Linked DNA regions of Homo sapiens: regions 1, 2 and 4 are each linked to region 3. Evidence: promoter capture Hi-C in human tissues and cell types (Jung and others, 2019). All regions are on one chromosome and are shown on one strand. The core of a region is centred on a gene start or on the middle of the fragment in contact, and the rest is flanking DNA. Distances in the headings are between cores, read along the strand shown. Region 1 has its middle 24 kb from the start of ALDH3B2. Region 2 has its middle 10 kb from the start of GSTP1. Region 3 holds the start of TBX10 (T-box transcription factor 10). Region 4 holds the start of ALDH3B2 (aldehyde dehydrogenase 3 family member B2).

Region 1 (2,700 bases), core at 173-2,672, 59 kb after region 3:
TGGTTATATGTCTCAGCCAGAAGCTGGCCCCACATTTCCCAAACGCTGCACGTAAAAAGGCAAGAACTCCCCGCGGGGGCCACTGTTTGAACAAGAATTTATGTGGTGTTCAGAGCCCCAGGATTCCCATGGCAGAGGTTCCTCAGGGCTCGGCAAGCAGGTACATTACTGCTGCTGTCCTCACTGCCGTGACATGGTCATGCACACTGAGACTCCCTGGAGAAAAAAATTAAATAAACCCCCCCCCTAAAATATCCCTAATTACAAAAGGTGAAGATAAAATGACTCAGGTCAAGGAAAAAAATTGTCCTAACTGTCATCCAAAAGACCACCAGGACGGCTACACAGTCGAAAGAGGAGCTTTACTGGCAAACTGGGAGGAGAGACTCATCTCAAACAAACAAAAAAGGAAATGTAATTGCCATTGTAACAATGTCGTGGAGGGGACCCTCCATAGGCGATTAGGTCATGAAGGCTCTGCCCCCATGAATTAATTAATCCTGTTATGGCAGGAGTAGGTTAGTGATCACGAGACTGGGTGTGTTATAAAAGTGAGGTCGGCCTGATTTCCTCCCTGTCTCACATGCTTGCTTCTGCCTTACACCCTTCTGCCACAAGATGACCCTTGCCCAAAGCCAGCACCATGCTCTTGGACTTCCCAGCCTCCAAAACTGGGAGAAATAAATTTCTTTTATCAGTTGTCCAATTTGTGGTGTTAATTTGCAGACTAAGACAGGCTTTCTAATAACGTTTGTTGGGGCTACTTGGATTTTTGAGGCAACATATTCCCACTTACACATTTCATGAAAACCTCTTTATTCAATTTCTCCTAAGTCTGCTCATTATAAACAGCCACTTCACACAAGCCCTCCAGGCTGTGTAGGGAACGGCTCCACCATGGCACCCTGGTGGCCCTGAACATATCCACACAGGCTACAGAGGCGAAAGCTCAAACTGAGGCTCATCTGAGTCATGACAGGACACTTTGTGATCCTCCAGAGAGTGGGAGGCCTGTAGGAGCTGCTACCACTCCCGTTGGCTCCCTGTCTCCCCCAGGAGGCTGTCATGAGAAGGTTCTGCATGGCCTTCGGGTTCTGATGAGGCCTGCCACTGTCTGTCCTGCCCTCTTCTGAACAGAGTTGCTGTTGCAGGAAATCAGGGACCCTGAACGGAGTGACCAGCTGGAGCCGTGCCATAGGAACATAAATTGTGAAGATTTCATTTTAATATGGACATTTATCAGTTCCCAAATAATACTTTTATAATTTCTTATGCCTGTCTTTACTTTAATCTCTTAATCCTGTTATCTTCATAAGCTAGGATGTACATCACCTCAGGACCACTGTGATAATTGTGTTAACTGTACAAATTGATTGTAAAACATGTGTGTTTGAACAATATGAAATCAGTGCACCTTGAAAAAGAACAGAATAACAGTGATTTTTAGGGAACAAGGGAAGACAACCATAAGGTCTGACTGCCTGTGGGGTCAGGCAAAAAGAGCCATATTTTCTTCTTGCAGAGAGCCTATAAACGGACATGCAAGTAGGAAACATATTGCTAAATTCTTTTCCTAGCAAGGAATATTAAGATTAATATCCTGGGAAAGGAATGCATTCCTTGGGGGAGGTCTATAATAACCGCTCTGGGAATGTCTGTCTTGTGCAGTTGAGATAAGGACTGAGATATGCTCTGGTCTCCTGCAGTACCCTCAGGCTTACCAGGGTGGGGAAAAACTCTGCCCTGGTAAATTTGTGGTCAGACTGGTTCTCTGCTCTTGAACCCTCTTTTCTGTTGTTTAAGATGTCTATCAAGACAATATATGCACTGCTGAACATAGACCCTTATCAGTAGTTCTGCTTTTGCCCTTTGCCTTGTGATCTTTGTTAGACCCTTATTAGTGGTTCTGCTTTTTGCCCTTTGAAGCATGTGATCTTTGTACTTACTCCCTGTTCTCACACCCCCTCCCCTTTTGAAACCCTTAAGAAAAACTTGCTGGTTTTGAGGATCAGGCAGGCCTCATGGTCCTACTGATATGTGATGTCACCCCGGCAGCCTAGCTGTAAAATTCCTCTCTTTATACTGTCTCTCTATTTCTCAGCCAGCCGACACTTATGGAAAATAGAAAGAACCTACATTGAAATATTGGGGGTGGGTTCCCCCAATATCTGGCACACCAACGTGGTTTTCTTTTTCCTAAGTGCATGTGGGAACCCGATTCCCTTTGGTAGGTATGTAGAAACGTTCATCGGTCCGGTCCACAGAAACCCTTGTTCGGCTCCCTGACAACTGGTGAGTTGTCTGTGTATTGTCCGGGGTAACTATGAGTCATGCAGAATCTAAACATTATGCTTATCTCTGCTATATTAAACTCCTGTTAAAACAGGGAGGAGTTTGGGTACCCATGGAAAATATGGTCACCCATTTCAGGGCGGTGGAAGAACACTGTCCTTGGTTTCCTCAAAAGGGAACGTTAGATGTGGAACTTTGGGATTGTGTTGGTGCAAAATTCCGGGAACCGGTCCCAACAGGAAATTATGCTCCCGTCACTGTTTGGGGTGATTGGGCCTTGGTACGTGCCATCCTAATGACATACCAATCCTGTGACCCCCTGCAGTTACCACAGTTTTCTGAATCTGGAGACCCTCTACCTCTTCCTCAGCTTTCCTCTCCCACTCGGCCTTTGTTATCTGCTCAGCT
Region 2 (2,700 bases), core at 41-2,540, 46 kb before region 3:
GTTGCAGTGAGCTGAGATCGCGCCACTGCCCTCTAGCCTGAGCGACAAGAGGGAGACTGTCTCAAAAAAAAAAAAAGTTTCTATAAGCTTTGCCAATTTGATTTTTATTATTTGTGCATTTCACAAGTCTGGAAGACTGAGGGTGGTATGGACAATGGAAATGTTGAAAAATCAGCCATACGTTACAAATAAACTGAATTATTTGACCAGTGAAATGGGTTCATTAGTTTCCATGAAGATTGGAGGGAGCTCTCCAAGAAGGAATAGGGCAAGATTTAAAGTAGTCATGGTCAAAGATGCAATCAACAAAGAAATTTGGTCATTTTATTTTTTTGTGGCCTACTGAAACGGGAAGGGTTCCCTTGTCCCCCTTGCAGGGCATGTGATGGGGGAGTGGCTCGCTTCTTCAGTGCCCCGCTGCTCAGACCTGCAGGGGAGCATACAGATGGGCAGGTTGTGGGGCTCCAACCCACGGCAGCATCTAGGGGTGGATGTTTACAGCTCCTGAAGCCCTAGTGGGCATGTGTTACAGGGTGCTCTTTTAGTTTTGCCATCTATAGGCAGCTTGTGTTAACCAGCAGCTCAATTAGACCCTCTGCTTTGTTACAAGGACAGAGGGATTTCTGTATCCCAGGTTCTTGCCTTGGTGTACTGGAAGAATAGGATCACACCTGGGCTTGGAGAATGAGTGCAAGGTTTTATTGAGTGGAGGTAACTCTCAGCAGTTGGAGGAAGCCAGAAGGGCATGGAGTGGGAAGGTTTTGCCCTGGAGTCAGGCTGCTCAGCGGCCTGGGCTTGCCTTTGACTGCCCGGCCAAACTCCGCCTCGTTCTGCAGGTGGATGGCCTGCCGGCATGCTGGCGTCTGTCGTGTGCTCTTCCACCAGCCTGCTCCCTTCTGTGGCAGATTGGTCAGAGAGGTGGGAAGAACTATAGGGAAAGGACGCAAACCTTCTGAAAGGTGGGAAGGTTCTGCAGAGCCCTGGGGGAGAAGAACTGAAGGCAGCTCTTCTATAACCCTGAGGCAGAGGGCAAGGAGTAGGTACAAGGGAGTATGGGGGATTTTATCTTAAATAGGCATGTTTACTTATGTCGACCAGGAACTGACCTTAGATCATCTATGATCACCTATGATCATGTTTCAGGGAACATGAGGTTCCCTGAAAGGGGAATAATAAATATTAATGACTTACAGATTGTGTCGGCTCCAGGTTTTCGACATTGTGCCTGCACTGAATAAAAGCAAAGCAGCTCCAGCTTCTTCCACTAGAGCCAGGCAGTCACCTAGCTGCTCTTAACACTGCATACCTGTGTCTGGGTACTCATTTCCTCTGTTGGCCAGGGTCTGTGGGACAGAGCTGGCACCCCTCAATGACCTCTCAACGTCCAGCCACTTGTGTCTTCTTCTGCCAATGTGTTCCTCTCCACGTCCAGCTGCTTGTGTGTCTGCTTGCTAGGGTCTCAGGGTTTTTATAGGCACAGGATATGGGTGTGGTGGGCCAGGGTGCTCTTTGGAAATGCAATATTTGGGCAGGAAAACAAAAATGCCTGTCTTCACCCAGGTCCATGGGCACAGGCCTGGGGGTGGAGCCCTAGCCAGGGACTACACATTCCTCTACCCAGCACTTCCCTGCCCCCCTTCCGTATCACTATAATTCAACACAATACTTACAATAATGACTGATAATATATACCAACACATATCAGATTTTTAGGAATCTCATATAATTTTGGAACACATATTAATAACACATTTCACAAATATAACTCAAAGAAAGTTAAATGTCATTTCTTTTTTGACAATGCTTGCTGTGTAATTTTTACATGCCAAATAATACCAAGTTCTCTTGAACTTACATGGGTTTTTTTTTTCTTTTTCAAATGTTGAAACGTTAGTTTGAGGTCAAAATGGCTTAATTTAGAATTTGAATTTTCATTTTTGGAAGTTTGTCAAATACCAAAGCTTTAAAACACTTGATATTAAAATAGAAAAGGTTTAAAAGACTTGTTCAAAATAGAATCATGGGGAACTTCAAAATAATAGTCATTCATTTAGCCAAAGTGATAACTGAAAGATTTCAGAAAAGCTGGGTGTGGTGACTCACATCTGTAATCCCAGCACTTTGGGAAGCCAAGGTGGGAGGATCACCTGAAGTCAGGAGTTCGAGACCAGTCTGGCCAACATGGTGAAACCCTGTCTCCCCTAAAAATACAAAATTAGTTGGGCATGGTGGCAGGTGCCTGTAATCCCCGCTACTCAAGAGGCTAAGGCAGGAGAATCGCTTGAACACGGGGGGTGGGGGGAAGGTTGCATTGAGCCAAGTTCGCACCATTGCACTGTAGCCTGGGCAAAAAGAGCGAAACTCCATCTAAAAAAAAAAAAGATTTCCGAAAGCAAAAACCTTTATTGTTTGATAGAGAGGAGACTCAGTTTTCTAAACAATCCAAAGACCTAATGAAGGAAGCATAAGGCAAACTCGCTCCTCTTTTTTTATTTTTTTCACTTTGCAGTTTGCTCAAAAGGCAAACAAAAATCTTTTACAATCTCTTATTACTACTACATGAAAATCTCGTTTAAAAGAGAAAACTAAATTCTACCTTTACATTAGTGTATTATTAATGCTACAGCTAAAAATATAGTTATAATAAAATCTTGCAAACAGATCCATCTAATCTCAATCACTTTTGACCACTACTCAAGA
Region 3 (2,813 bases), core at 249-2,748:
TAAATTGTGTTATGTATATTTTACAATTAAAATGTTTTAAATGGAAAAAAATCCTGAGAAACAGAACTATTATTTTATAGCAGCCCCATAAGGGGCTGAGAAGCTGGAAGGGCCATGGAAGCCACAGTGGCTGGGAGTCAGGGGACAAGGTTTTATTCCCAGCTGTGTCCCCACCCGAGTGGCTTTGGGATATTTACACGACTGTAAGACTATGGGATGCCTGGAGCAGAGGGGGGTGCTGGGTGTTGGAGAGATGGATGAACTGGCAGACAGGCGGGTGACGGAGGCCCCCAGGTGGCATAGCATCTGCTGAGGTACCAGGTGGACGGCACCTGGCCAGGGTGAGCTCTTAGTAGGTGCCTGGGGAGAATGTGGAGCCCAGGGCCATGGCCACGTCCTCAGCAGCCCTGAGAGCTGCGTGCAAAGGCCCTGGGATTTCTGCAGCCTCGCGGGGGAGGGGGCGTCTTTGTGACAGGGATGGGTCACATCAGGTTTGAGGACCCTGGGCAGGATGGATAGATGGGCTGATGTCCCCCTGCCCCTGTGGCCAGTCCATCAGAAGGGTAGCTGGTTGTCGCCCGGCTGCCCTGCTGGGGCGGGTACGTCATCCAGGTGATGCCAGCCCCCCTGGGTCCATGGCAATGGGTCCCAAGGTGGGGGGGCTCATGATTTCACTGGGCCTGGAGGCTTTGCCGGTGGTCACTGGCTCCCAAGTCCTCTAGGGGCTCACCCGCTGCCCGTCGCAGCCAATGTGCTGCCCCTCAACACTTTCAGGGACTCTGGTGGGGGGAGCCTGTCCTTTGCTCAGTCCCTCTAGAAGCCAGCATTCCTCAGGGCCCAGAGATGACAGCTTGCCAGAAGCATCGAGTGTCAAGTCTGGAAGGGAAGCTAAGGGCTTCTTGTCCAGCCCCAACTTTGATGCTCAAGGAGCTGGGGCTCAGGGAGAGGCCCGAGGTCACACGTGCCCAGTGAGGCGCTCATCTCCCGGAACAGCCTGGTCCCTGGCATCTCCCATAATTGCACTTGGGCAGCCGTGAGCCCTGTCCCGTTGGGATCTCAGACCTTAGCCTGGGGTGCCCCTGCCCCACCCTCTTGTGAAGGACCTGGGTTCAGCGGGGCTGTCTTGGTTCCCACCCTGCCCACCCACCCTGGAACCTGAGCCTGACCCATGAGGCCACCTCTGCTTCAGAACGTAGCCTACCTGCCATGGAGACAGAGAGGCTGTCCGGCTCCTGGAGAAACACTGCTTGGCTGGGGCTGGGAACCTGCCTGCTGGAAGGGGTGGTCACCACTCGTCCACTCGGCACCTCAGCTCAGCCCTCAGGTGCTCACACAAGCTGTAGTCTCTCGGCAGGACGGTCCTTGCCTCCTCGATCGCCCTTCGTCCACGTCCTGAGGTCGTGGTCTTCCTACTCGAGCTGGACCCCTGGTCTCCGAAGGTGAGATGCAGGCTCTGGGGCGTGCAGCGGCCCTTCTCCAAGCCACTCTCGGGCTGTGCTGTCCAAGGCTGTGCGGGAGGAGGGCAGGTGGGAAGGTTCTGACGTTGCAGAGCCCCCCTTCCTCCCTCCTTGTCCTCCCTCTTCAAGTTCCTCCCTTCCCCAGCTAAGAGCCCCCCAGCCATTCCTGATCGATGGGCCCAGGCGTGGCAGGGGTGAGGGGGTGGGAGAGTGGTTCTTGAGGACGGCTGGGCATCTGCAGGGGTCCAGGCCTGGCTGACTGGAGGGGCTGGGGCCCCGGGGGTTGGGAGGCACAGTGGGAGCAGCAGATTGCGGGCTGAATGGCGGAGGAGGTGCCCTCCCACCAAGACCCAGACCCCTGACCTGAGGCTGGCCCCAGCCGGCCGGCAGATGCGCAATTGTCAGGAGCAGTGTGAGCAGGAAACGCAAGGGGGCAGCAGCAACGAGTGCAGTCAGCATAGAGCCCCAGACTGGATGGCGGGAAGCCCAGGTCCTGTGGCACGTGAACCCACACGCACAGACACATGGATGAACTCAGGGAGCTGCGCAACGCTGGCAGGTCCCACAGTCTCCGTGCCTCAGCCTCCCCAGTTAACCTAAGCACATAATCTCTTCCGCCTGTGATGGTCTAGCCCAGCCTGGAGAGCGGTAAGCCCATCCCGCCTGGAACTGGGGGCACTGCCCTGGCTGATGGTGTCCACGGAATCCCCATCTGGACATGAGTGGAAACGGTGAGGCTGGCCCAGGTGAGAAGTGGGCGTCCGCTCTGCCTGTGGGTCTGTCTGTTCTCTCTGGCCTGACCGGGCACCCTCTCCAGGTTGTCTACAGCCTGTGCTGGGCATTCAGGGGACACATGGATCACTCTGCAGGGAGGCAGAACCTGGAGGTCCCCCTGAGAGGCTGCCAGTTCCTTGGTTGAGAGTGCTCGCTGGCCTTTTGACTCTTGCTGAATGGCACAGAGTGGGTCGTCTGGCTGGAGCCCCCCATACCTCCTCCAGAATCCTGTCTTGGGGATGCTGGGTTGGCAGTGGCCTTGATTCCTAAGAGGGGGCATGGAGGGGCTGGGGGGCGGCAGGGCTGCTTCTCCCTGAGCGCTATGTTCTGGGCGCAGCTGCAGCTCAGGGATGCCTGTGGCTCAATCCCTTGTGTCTCACATCTCAGCCTGCAGAGCTGGATGGGACCCCACACAAAGACGGTGGGCTGGCTCTGGGGGATGTAAAAGGAGGAGGGCCGGCCCCTGGCCCAACCCCATGCCCGGCTGTGTGAGAAAAGGCTGCCAGCACTTTGGAGTTGCTGCCAGGCAAGATGGGAGTGCTCTGTGTGAGTTGGAGGGTCCCAGCAGCCCCTTGAGGCTAT
Region 4 (2,700 bases), core at 74-2,573, 35 kb after region 3:
TGGACCTGGGTCCCATAGGTGACCACCCCAGACTTGGCCAGCCCCCATGGAGCTCACAGTCTACACACGGAACAATGACACCGGAAACAATATCATTACAAACATGATCGGTGGGCCAGGGCTTCTTCCAGAGGTGGCCAGAGACCCACCCCTGGCTCTGACTGCTGCGGGGAAGCCGTAGGGGAGGGCCTCTTGGAGGGCAGGTGATCTGGACAGAGGGACCAACGTGTGCAAAAGCCCTGTGGGGGCAGATGCTGAGAAATAAGACACACAGGAAGGTGGAGGCCTGATGGGACCTGTCATATGGAGAGGGGACTCATTCCCTTGGCAGTGGCCATGCCTGGTGCAGGGCCCAGAAAGAAGTCAGAGCTGGCATCTGGGGCCAGGTAGCTGGCATGCACATCTCATCTGAGCCTCACAGCTATTATTATTACCCAGTTGGAAGGACAGGGAAACCGAGGCTCCCAGAGACGACTTGATTTGCCCTCCTCACAGCCTCAGTGCGAGGAGGGAGGCCCCCCAGCCCCTCTCCTCACACCAGCCTTGTGACACCATGTGCCAATGTGTGCCTCGTGCCTTTCACTGTCTTCTCAACATCTTCCTGCAGCTTCCAGACTTTCTAAATGCGAATGTAGTATTTCTAGAACCAGAAACAAGCAATGCATGTTGCTTTTAACATCTGAAACCAAAGATCCGACTTTCGCTTCAACTGCCAAGAATCTCTCTGCTTCCAATCCCCGATTCTCCGGCACCTCCTGATCACAGCCCTGGTGCCCCCGACCCAATCCTTGTCTGTCCACAGAGCTGCCTTCTCCTCTAACCTGGGAGCTCCTCAAAGGGAGGACGGGGTCTGTCCCCATCCCTGGGGCTCCTGGGGAACAGGCTTCATTTCTGTGGCTGCTTCCCAGGAGCCTGCCAAAGGGCAAAGTGAGGCTCAGAAGACACCAGCACCCACCTCCCTCTCCTGAGCAAGCCCCGTACCCATGGCCCCTGCAGCCATAGGCCCCTTGGTGGGCTTGCCCCCTGACCCACGGGCCATGGGCACACATCCCCTTCCCTCCATGCCCCTGGTTCCCACCAGTGTCCTTTACCCTGAGCTCCCTCTGCCCGCCCCTCACCCCTGTGGCCCCACATAACCCAGCGTGGGCTCTGCCCCTGGGTCCTTCGCTGCACCTCCACTCCCTTTCTTGGACATGCTGCCTCCAGATGCGCAGGCTCTGCTCCTACCCCCAGGCCTCAGCCCTGCTCTGCTGACTGCGATCCTCCCAGGAGACTGGCAGCTCCCAAACCAACTCCCGTGCCCACGCCTGGCAATGGGGTAATCAATGGGGTGATGCTCAGTGTTACCCAACAGGCGTGGGGCAGGGCTGCACCTCCCAATTCCCATGCCTACCCTTGTCTCACTGCCAGGACCTATAGCTGCTCGGTGTCTGCCCTGTTCTTCCAGGGCCCTGCCCCCAGGGACCACACTGCACAGCCGGCTTGGGAACAGGTTAGACAAGTCAAGGCTGTCTGAGGCTTTGCTCTGTGTTTCCTGGAATGGGCTAGCAGGGAGTTACCTGATCAGGAAAAAAGAACCCCAGGGGAAGGTCACAGGATGAAAATATCAGCAGGATCCTGGTGGCAAATGCTGCCTTCGCCAGGAAGTCCTCCCAGGCCCCAGCCACAGTGGTCCCATGCCCCCCATGGCCCCTCCTAGGGTCTCTATGCTAAATCTTCATCTCCCTCCTCTCCTGTCCTCACTCTTCAGGCTTCACAGGTCAAGATGAGCAACTGTGGCTCTATTTCCACTCTCAGTGTGCCCAGCTGGCATACTCAGGGCAGAGGAAGGGGCTCAGATCTTTGCAGAGAGACCCTTGATGGGCGACGGCACCTGTAGCTCTAGGATGGCGCATTGTTCATTGGTTTATTTATTTACTGTGCAACCGTGGGTAGGTTACTTAACGTCTCTGAGCCTTTCGGAAGTAACAATAACACCTAATTGCCATGGTTCTTGAGAGGGTCACAGAGGGAGACGTGAGAATGGAAAAGGCAGATCACAGCTCCTGGCACAAAATCAGTGCCCCTCAATGTTGCCCGCTAATGTTTCCACAAGTATTTGCTGAGCACCTTCTAGGTTCCAGGGAGCAGAATGAGCTCAGGTCCTGCCACTGTCCTTCATGGATGGCCTGACTCTGTCCCCACCCCACCTTCCCCCAAGCCTGAGACCAAGGACACGCCCTGCTGAGGGCTGTAGAGAGTCTCTTGGCAGAGTGTGCAGCCCTGTGGGCAGGAGGGACATCTGAGATAACCCTTGGTTGTGACTGGAGACAGCCCAGCGGAGGCCACAGCCTGAGACCAAGCCCTGGCCCTGGAATCTTCGGTAGCTAAAGATGTAAATGCCAATGTGACACCAGGAAGGGACCTCGGGATGGGGAAGGGAATACAGGGCAGAATGCTAAGGCCCATCTAAGAGCAGCAGATGGGTTATGGCCACTGGGGAGGCCCACTGCCTCCAAACCACTGAATTGTACACTGTAAATGGGTGAGTTGTATGGGATGTGAATGCTATCTCAATAAGCTGTTTTGTTTTGTTTTGTTAAACTGAACTGACAAGAAGCCTGAATAGACGTAAATAAATTAAAATATGCTCAACCTCAGTAGCAATTGTTAAAATGTAAAATAGGTCGGGTGCGGTGGCTCATGCCTGTAATCCCAGCA

Evidence for each region. Contacts are between HindIII fragments. The study calls those that stand out against the background at their distance.
Region 1: a fragment that was not itself captured here is called in contact with the fragment with the promoter of TBX10 in region 3 in 2 of the 25 tissues and cell types used here (H1 embryonic stem cells and thymus).
Region 2: a fragment that was not itself captured here is called in contact with the fragment with the promoter of TBX10 in region 3 in 1 of the 25 tissues and cell types used here (spleen).
Region 4: the fragment with the promoter of ALDH3B2 here is called in contact with the fragment with the promoter of TBX10 in region 3 in 1 of the 25 tissues and cell types used here (liver).

Annotation. Positions count from the first base shown.
Region 1 is chr11:67,697,407-67,700,106 of GRCh38, forward strand. No RefSeq gene overlaps it. Among named protein-coding and RNA genes, the nearest start is that of ALDH3B2, 24 kb to the left of the region's middle. The HindIII fragment of the contact is 5,827 bases long and covers 1-2,700 here.
Region 2 is chr11:67,592,612-67,595,311 of GRCh38, forward strand. No RefSeq gene overlaps it. Among named protein-coding and RNA genes, the nearest start is that of GSTP1, 10 kb to the left of the region's middle. The HindIII fragment of the contact is 3,217 bases long and covers 1-2,700 here.
Region 3 is chr11:67,638,265-67,641,077 of GRCh38, forward strand. TBX10 (T-box transcription factor 10) reads right to left here and starts at 1,499. Exons shown (of 8, transcript NM_005995.5): 1 at 1,202-1,499. The coding sequence starts at 1,208. The HindIII fragment of the contact is 9,108 bases long and covers 878-2,813 here.
Region 4 is chr11:67,673,300-67,675,999 of GRCh38, forward strand. ALDH3B2 (aldehyde dehydrogenase 3 family member B2) reads right to left here and starts at 1,324. Exons shown (of 10, transcript NM_001393402.2): 1 at 1,137-1,324. The HindIII fragment of the contact is 24,145 bases long and covers 1-2,700 here.